Regions from separate parts of the Homo sapiens genome. Here region 1 is linked to region 2. The links are contacts of gene promoters, found by promoter capture Hi-C in human tissues and cell types (Jung and others, 2019). All regions are on one chromosome and are shown on one strand. Each heading gives the region's core, a stretch centred on a gene start or on the middle of the fragment in contact. The rest is flanking DNA. Distances are from core to core; before and after follow the strand shown. Region 1 overlaps MNAT1 (MNAT1 component of CDK activating kinase). Region 2 holds the start of SIX4 (SIX homeobox 4).

Region 1 (4,611 bases), core at 1,259-3,758, 160 kb before region 2:
TTAGCCTTTTTCAAAGGCTAATCAAAAGATTAATCAAAAAGATTAAGATACTTAAGAACAAATTTAACAAAGGAGGTCAAAGCTGTACACACTGAAAAATATGAAACACTGAAGACAACATAAATAAACGGCAACAAATCCCATGTCCGTAAGAATAGAGGAATATTGTTAAAATGTCCATACTACCAAAAGCAGTATACAGATTCAACAAAATCCCTATCAACATTCTCATGGCATTTTCAATACAAACAGAAAAAAATTATAAAGTTCACATGAAACCACAAAATACCCACAAAAAACAAAACAGCCTTGAAAAGGAAGAACAAAGTTGGAAACACCAAATTTGCTGATATCAGATAATATTACAAAGCTATAGTATGGTATTGACACAAAAACAAACATATACACATTGGAACAGAATAGGGAGCCCAGAAATAAACCCAAACATCTGCAGTCAACTAATTTTTGATAAGGGCATGAAAACATACAATGGAAAAAGGCTAATATTTTTAGTCAATGGCACTGAGAGAACTATACACATACAAGTGAATGAAACTGGCCCTTATCATACACCATATTAAAAAACATCAACTCAAAATGGACTAAAGACTTAAAAATAAAACCTGAAACCATAAAATTCTTAAGAGAAAACATAGTGAGAAAGATCCTTGATGTTAACTTTGGCAATGGTTTTCTGGATAAGACACCAAATACGCAACAAAACTGAAAATAAACAAATAGAGCTACATCAAACTAAAAAGCTCTAGACAACAAAGGAAATAAACAACAAAATGAAAAACCAACCTACACATTGGGAAAATATATTTGCAAACTATACAAACTATACATCCAATAAAGGGTTAATACCCAAATTATATAAAGAACTTGAATAGCTCAAAGGCAAACAAAACCAAATAACTCAACTTAAAAATGGGCAAAGGACCTGAATAGTCATTTCCCCAAAGATAACATATGAATGGCCAAAAGGTGTATGAAAAGCTGCTCAACATCACTAATCATCAAGAAAATACAAACAAAAACCAGAGTCTCTTAATAGCAGAATTGATTAAGCAGAAGAGTGAACTTGAATATAAGCTATTTGAAAATACAGTCAAAGAAAACAAAACAAAATTAACAATAAAAAACAATGAAGCATGCCTAAAAGATCTAGAAAATAGCCTCAAAAGTGCAAATCTAAGAGTTATGGGGCCTAAATAGGAGACAGAGAGAGAGATGAGGGTAGAACGTTTATTCATAAGGAGAATAACAGAACATTTCCCAAATCTAGAGAAATATATCAATATTCAACTATTCAAGTACAAGAAGGTTACAGAACACCAAGCAGATTCAACTCAAAAAAGAATACCTCAAAGCATTTAACACTCAAACTCCCAAAGGTCAAGGATAAAGAATTCTACAAGCAGAAAGACAAAATATACAAATAACATAGAATGGAGGTCCAATATGTCTGGCAGCGAACTCTTCAGTGGAAACCTTATAGGCCAGAAGAGACTGGCATGAAGGAAAAAGCTTTTGCCCTAGAATAGTATATCCGGTGAAAATGTTCTGCAAACATGAAGGAGAAACAAATAAAGACTTTCCCGGACAAACAAAAGCTGAAGGTTTTTATCAACACCAGACCTGTCTTACAAGAAATGCTAAAGGGGGTTCTTCAATTAGAAAGAAAAGAACATTAATGAGCAATATGAAGTCACCTGAAGGTACAAAATTCACTGGTAATGGTAAGTACACAGAAAAACACAGAATATTCCCACACTGTAATCATGGTAGATAAACTACTCTTAAGTAGGAAAACTAAAAGATAAATCAATTAAACATAATAACTACAACTTTTCAAGACGTAGTACAATAAGATATAAATAGAACAACAAAAAGTTAAAAAGCAAGGGGACAAAGTTAAAGTGTAGAGTTTTTACTAGTTTTGATTTTGCTTATTTGTTTGTTTGTTTGTTTATGCTATCAACCTTAAGTTGTCATCAGCTTAAAATAATGGGTTATAAGATAGTGTTTGCAAGCCTCAACAAAATACTAGCAAGCTGAATTCAACAACATGTTAAAAAGATCATTCACTCATCATGACCACATGTGATTTATCCCAGGAATACAAGGATGGTTCAACATATGCAAATCAATCAATATGATATATCATATCAACAGAGTGAGGACCAAACCATATGATCACTTCAACTGATGCTGAGTAAGCATTTAATAAAATTCAACATTCTTTCATGGTAAAAACCCTCAAAAACCTGGGTATAAAAGGAATTTACCTCAACATAATGAAAGCCATATATAACAGACCTGCAGCTAGTATACTGAATGGGGGAAAACTGAAAGTCTTTCTTCTAAGATCTGGAATACAGCAAGAATGCCCACTATCACCACTGCTATTCAACACAGAACTGGCAGTCCTAGCTAGAGCAATCAGACAGGAGAAAGAAATAAAGGACATCCAAAGCAGAAAGGAGTAAGTCAAATTATTTTTGTTTACAGATGATATGATCTTATATTTGGAAAAACCTAAAGACTTCACAAAAAAACTATTAGAACTGATAAACAAATTGAGTAAAGTTGCAGAATACAAAATCAGCACACAAAAATCAGCAGCATTTCTATATGCCAAGAGTGAACAATCTAAAAAAGAAATCAAGAAAGTAATCCCATTTACAATAGCTAGAATAAAATACCTAGGAATTAACCAAATAAGTGAAAGATCTCTACTATGAAAACTATAAAATACTGACGCAAAAAATTGAAGAGGACACACACACACAAAAGATATTCCATGTTCATGGATTGGAAGAATCAATAATGTTAAAATGGCCATAGTACCCAAAGCAATCTACAGATTAAATGCAATCTCTATCAAAATACCAATGACATTCTTCACAGAAATTAAAAAATTCCTAAAATTTATATGGAATCACAAAAGACCCAGAATAGCCAAAGCTATCTTTAAAGAAACTTTAAAGATATAAAACTTCAGGAATTATATTACCTGACTTCAAATACTACAGAGCTATAGTAACTAAAATAGCATGGTACTGGCATAAAAATGGACACAGAGACCAATGGAACAAAATAGAGAATCTCAAAACAAATCCATGCATCTACAGTGAACTCATTTTTGACAAAAGTGCCAAGACCATACATTTGGGAAAAGAAAATCTCTTCAAAATATGGTACTGGGAAAACTGGATATCCATATGCATAAGAATGAAACTAGACCCCTAACTCTCACCACATACAAAAATCAAATCAGGATGAAACACTTAAATCTAAGACCTCAAACTATTTAACCTACTAAAATTAAACATTGGGGAAACGCTCCAGGATATTGGAGTGGGCAAAGATTTTTGAGGAACACCCCCACAAGCACAGGCAACTAAAGCAAAAATAGGTAAGTAGGACCACATCAAGTTAAAAAGCTTCTGCAAAGCGAAGAAATCGATGAACAAAGAGACAACCTATAGAATGGGAGAAAATATTTTCAAACTACCCATCTGACAAGGCATTATTAACCAGAATATGTAAGGAACTCAAACAACTCAACAGGAAAAAATGTAATAATCCAACTTAAAAATGGGCAAAAGATTTGAACATACATTTCTCAAAGGAAGATATACAAATGGCAAACAGTCATATGTAAAAATGCTCAACATCACCAGTAATCATCAGAGAAATGCAAATCAAAACTACAATGAGATAGAATCTCATCCCAGTTTAAATGGCTTTTATCCAAAGACAAGCAGTAACGAGTACTGGAGAGGATGTGGAAAAAAGAAAATCTTGTACACTGTTGGTGGATATGTAAATTAGTACAACCAGTATGGAGAACAGTTTCGAGGTTTGTCAAAAAACAAAAATAGAGCTACTATATGATCCAGCAATCCCACTGCTGGGTATATACCCAAAAGAAAGGGAATTAGTATTTCAAAATGACATCTGCACTCCCATGTTTGTTACAGGACTGTTCACAATAGCCAAGATTTGGAAGCAATCTACATGTCCATCAACAGATGACTGAATAAAGAAAATGTGGTACATATACACAGTGGAGTATTATTCAGCCATAAAAAAGGTATGCGATCCTGTCATTTGAAACAACATACATGGAACTGGTGGTCATTATGTTAAGTGAAATAAGCCAGGCACAGAAAGACAAACTTAGCATGTTCCCACTTATTTGTGGAAGCTAAAAATTGAACTGATAGGGAGTAGAAGGAAGGTCACCAGAGGTTGTGAAGGGTAGTGAGGAGGTGGGAGAGGATGTGGGGATGGTTAATGGGTAGAAAAAAAAATAGTTAGAATGAATAGGAACCAGTTTTTGGTTTTGTTTTGTTTGTTTTTGTTTTTGTCACCCAGGCTAGAGTGCAGTGGCACAATCTTGGCTCACTGCAACCTCTGCCTCCCAGGTTCAAGTGATTCTCCTGCCTCAGCCTCCCAAGTAGCTGTGATTAAAGGTGCATACCACCATACCCAGCTATTATTTTGTATTTTTAGTAGAGTCGGGGTTTCATCATGTTGGCCAGGCTTGCCTCAAACTCCTGACCTCAAGTGATCTGCCCACCTCAGCCTCCCAAAGAGCTG
Region 2 (4,453 bases), core at 1,110-3,609:
ATTCCAAATAAAAAATATATTTTTAAAAAAATTTGGCCAGGTGTGGTGGCTCATGCCTCTAATCCCAGCACTCTGGGAGACTGAGGTGGGCGGATCACTTGAGGTCAGGAATTTAAGACCAGCCTGGCCAACATGGTGAAACCCCATCTCTACTAAAAATACAAAAATTAGCTGGGTGTGGTTGGCAGGTGCCTGTAATCCCAGCTACTCGGGAGGCTGATGCAGGAGAATCACTTGAAACCAGGAGGGGCAGGTTGCAGTGAGCTGAGATCATGCCACTGCACTTCAGCCTGGGCATCAGAGAGAGACCCTGTCTCAAACAAAAACAAACAAGCAAACAAAAATTCAAGGAAGTTCTGAATCTCAGTTATTGTCCTGAAGCTTGGTACCTAACTGGATGTTTCCAGTGGAGTAGAAACACATGGTCTTGGCCGGGCGCGGTGGCTCACGCCTGTAATCCCAGCACTTTGGGAGATCGAGGCGGGCGGATCACGAGGTCAGGAGATCGAGACCATCCTGGCTAACACGATGAAACCCCATCTCTACTAAAAATATAAAAAATTAGTCGGGCATGGTGGCACGCGCCTGTAGTGCCAGCTACTCAGGAGACTGAGGCAGGAGAATCGCTTGAACCCGGGAGGCAGAGGTTGCAGTGAGCCAAGATCACGCCACTGCACTCCAGCCCGGGCAACAGAGTGAGACTCCATCTCAAAAAATAAATAAATAAATAAATAAATAAATAAGCAAATAAATAATATGGCCTTTTCTGTTGTTATAAATTTTAAATCTACCAGCGATGTCAACACATTAGGGTAATGCAAAAACAAGTTAAATCCTACATCAAATGACATCTTGATTGACCAGCAATAAAATAAAGCCTGTCTACAAAAAAAAAGAAAATCTCACCAAGTTTATCATGACGGCAGGTGACCTAGACAGCTGCTTTGTAATATGCTGAAGTAGGCAGCTATGAGTAGCTGGGAAGCATACACAATACAAGGCCACCCTGAAGCAAAGGTTAGGATGATGTCATTAAAATGTTGAATTTTGAGAGGCCGAGGCGGACGGATCACGAGGTCAGGAGATCGAGACCATCCTGGCTAACGTGGTGAAACCCCGTCTCTACTAAAAAATACAAAAAAAAAAAAAAAAAAAAAATTAGCTGGGCGTGGTGGCGGGCGCCTGTAGTCCCAGCTACTCGGGAGGCTGAGGCAGGAGAATGGCGTGAACCCAGGAGGCGGAGCTTGCAGTGAGCCGAGATCACACCACTGCACTCCAGCCTGGGCGACAGAGCGAGACTCCATCTCGGGGGGAAAAAAAGTTGAATTTTGAGAAAGAGCAGCAGCAGGCAAACCCAACTGACCTACAGTAATCAAAGAAGCAGAAATGGATCATCCCTTTTGGAATTAAGATCTTGTGCAAATTACAAAGGAAAGAGACACAACTGCAAACAACAAAAGACTCTACCCCCACTTCAGCATCAAACCAGAGGGCAATCTGTCTATGCTGTGGAAAAGGGCTTCTGATCCTGCACTGATCTGGATGACACCCGCACATTCAGTGTTTCTAGCCTATCATCGTTAAAAAAGAAATACTCATATACTTACATTAAAAAGTTCATGTAGAAAACTTAAATTTCCATATTTAAAGCTTAGATCTCTTCCACACGACTCATCCAGGATAAACTTATGGTTTAATATTCTACATGTTTAATTATACCATGTTCAACTCAGTTGGGTTGCCAGCCCTCCACGTGGCTTAAGGTTAAGTACATTTTTTGAAGGCTTCTTGTTTTTGTCTTCTCAGTGTGCTATTTATGCTGCTAATTATAAGGTTTTCAAGCATTTTTCCCTCTTTGGAATTTTAATTTACTGTAAATGCTTGCCCCTTAGAACATTTCCTAGTGTCATTTTATTTTTGACCGTTTTGAATACAAAATCCTTGATAAAGACATCCAAAAAGAGGGAGAATGGGGAACAGGGACATACTGGGGGGCTTCTGAATTGTCCTCTGAAGTTTTGTCATCTAGATGCTGAGGGTGGTCTCTTTGTTAAAAATTTAACCATCCAGACCTTAAGGCCACACAATTAATATTCCCTCTGGAATTGTAGGGCCTCTGTTTGAAAGAGTTGTCCAGTTTTCAGGCCACATTAGGTAATTTCCCGCCCAGGAGCGTGGCTTGGAAAGAATGTCGGTGTTTTCCTTCAGGTATAGGTGCCTGGGGGTCAGGAGGGGAGGGAAAGGCGAGGGGTGGAGTGGGAGGCGGGTGATCGACAGGGATAGAAACTGTGTCTCCTCCTCCCTCTGAATGCGAAATAGCCAATGAGGTGGCTAGGCCGGGCCGGCCCGGCCGCCACTGCCATATAGTATGCAGCAACCGGAGGAGTCACGTTGGGGGAACGGCAGAAAGCAGCTATCCGTTTACACTACTTTGCTCTAACAGCTATCTTAATGGTGACTGCGTGGCCGGGGGGAAACCTGATCGGCCAGATACAGCCGAAACCAGGAGGGAGGGAGTGGGCTTTCCGGAGGGGGAGAGGAGGGAGGGAGACGAAGGAGGAGGAGTAAGAGAGGAGGAAAGAAAGAGGAAAAGAGTGCGAGGGAGTGAGGGAGGGAGGAAAATAAACAACAAAAAATGTCCTCTTCCTCCCCCACCGGGCAGATCGCAAGTGCGGCGGACATCAAGCAAGAGAATGGGATGGAAAGCGCCTCGGAAGGGCAGGAGGCGCACCGAGAAGTGGCGGGGGGCGCGGCGGTAGGGCTGAGCCCCCCGGCTCCAGCCCCTTTTCCCCTGGAGCCGGGGGACGCCGCGACCGCTGCCGCCAGGGTGAGCGGAGAGGAAGGGGCAGTGGCGGCGGCGGCGGCCGGAGCGGCGGCGGATCAGGTACAACTCCACTCGGAACTTCTGGGCAGGCACCACCACGCCGCCGCCGCCGCCGCGCAGACCCCGCTGGCCTTCTCGCCCGACCACGTCGCCTGCGTGTGCGAGGCACTGCAGCAGGGGGGCAACCTGGACCGCCTGGCCCGGTTCCTGTGGTCCCTGCCCCAGAGCGACCTGCTACGTGGCAACGAGAGCCTGCTGAAGGCGCGGGCGCTCGTGGCCTTCCACCAGGGCATCTACCCCGAGCTCTACAGCATCCTCGAGAGCCACAGCTTCGAGTCGGCCAACCACCCGCTGCTGCAGCAGCTCTGGTACAAGGCGCGCTACACCGAGGCCGAGCGAGCCCGCGGCCGGCCGCTGGGAGCCGTAGACAAGTACCGGCTGCGCAGGAAATTCCCCCTGCCCCGCACCATCTGGGACGGCGAGGAGACGGTGTATTGTTTCAAGGAGAAGTCGCGCAACGCGCTCAAGGAGCTCTACAAGCAGAATCGCTACCCTTCGCCCGCCGAGAAGCGGCACCTGGCCAAGATCACCGGCCTCTCCCTCACCCAGGTCAGCAACTGGTTCAAGAACCGCCGGCAGCGCGACAGGAACCCCTCCGAGACCCAGTCCAAAAGGTGAGCGCCAACTTTCCTCCTCCTCCCCCTTCCTCTCCCCCACCCCCTTCCCGGCTTTCTTTTCCTCCAAGTGCTCGCAAACATGGCGCTTACCTTCCCCACCAGCCTGGTCCGGCTGCCCACCTCTCCCCGCCCCCTACCTCGCTCCCCGGCCGGCAGAGGTAGGGGGCGGCGGAGGCGGGGGGCGGGGGAACCTCCCTCCTTACCCTCCCCCTCTCCCCCCAGAAGTTTCTGGTCGCCCGCCTAGGTCTCAGTCCCCGCCCCCACCTCGGCTGGTCACTGCTGCCCAGCTTCCCACCCCCATCCCGCTGGCTTTGAAGTTGCCACCCTCTCCCCGTTTCTGGAGGGGCTAACGAAGCAAATGTGGACACCGGCACCGTAGCTCTCCCTGCCGCCCGAGGCCCGCAGAGACTGCCGGCGCCGGCCGGGGTCTGCACCTCCGCGAGGTCACACCGGGCCTGGCGCGCGCGCACGCTCCCGGATCCCCAGGGTTCAGCCGCCCCCCGGGCCTGCGCTGGAGGTCGCGGTGGCTGCTCTGGTGAAGGGAAGAGAGTGTTGTGGGACTGGCGGCGCAGAAGGGGTCTCGGAACGTCGAGGTTTCATATGACAGAGTTAATCATTCACCCTGCCCCTATGGTTCCCTTAGCGGCCGCGGCAACGTGGGGTGCTGGTGCAGCTCGGCTCTGTCATGTTTTGAAACCTGATTCTGAACTCCTTAGGATCGGGTTTCAGCGCAGCCGGGGTAGCAGGGCTGAAGGGCTGCTTCCTCCCTCGGCCCCCGAACGCTGCTTGGCTCCCTCCTGGTACGGTAGTTATGGGTGGGGGGCAGGCCGGCTTACGGCGGGCGGCAGCAAAGGAGTGGGGGCGCTCCCACCCCACTGGGTTTGAGCTTTTTGCCTGGCAGACTGCTTTCCCCCTCTGGTAAAAAAAATACCGGATTTTCCACCTCTTTTGT

Evidence for each region. Contacts are between HindIII fragments. The study calls those that stand out against the background at their distance.
Region 1: a fragment that was not itself captured here is called in contact with the fragment with the promoter of SIX4 in region 2 in 1 of the 25 tissues and cell types used here (dorsolateral prefrontal cortex).

The regions. Positions count from the first base shown.
Region 1 is chr14:60,881,909-60,886,519 of GRCh38, reverse strand. All of the region lies in intron 7 of MNAT1 (MNAT1 component of CDK activating kinase), which reads right to left. Among named protein-coding and RNA genes, the nearest start is that of TRMT5, 97 kb to the left of the region's middle. The HindIII fragment of the contact is 5,206 bases long and covers 1-4,611 here.
Region 2 is chr14:60,722,257-60,726,709 of GRCh38, reverse strand. SIX4 (SIX homeobox 4) reads left to right here and starts at 2,359. Exons shown (of 3, transcript NM_017420.5): 1 at 2,359-3,498. The coding sequence starts at 2,636. RefSeq lists silencers at 2,877-2,946, 4,225-4,294. The HindIII fragment of the contact is 7,845 bases long and covers 1,017-4,453 here.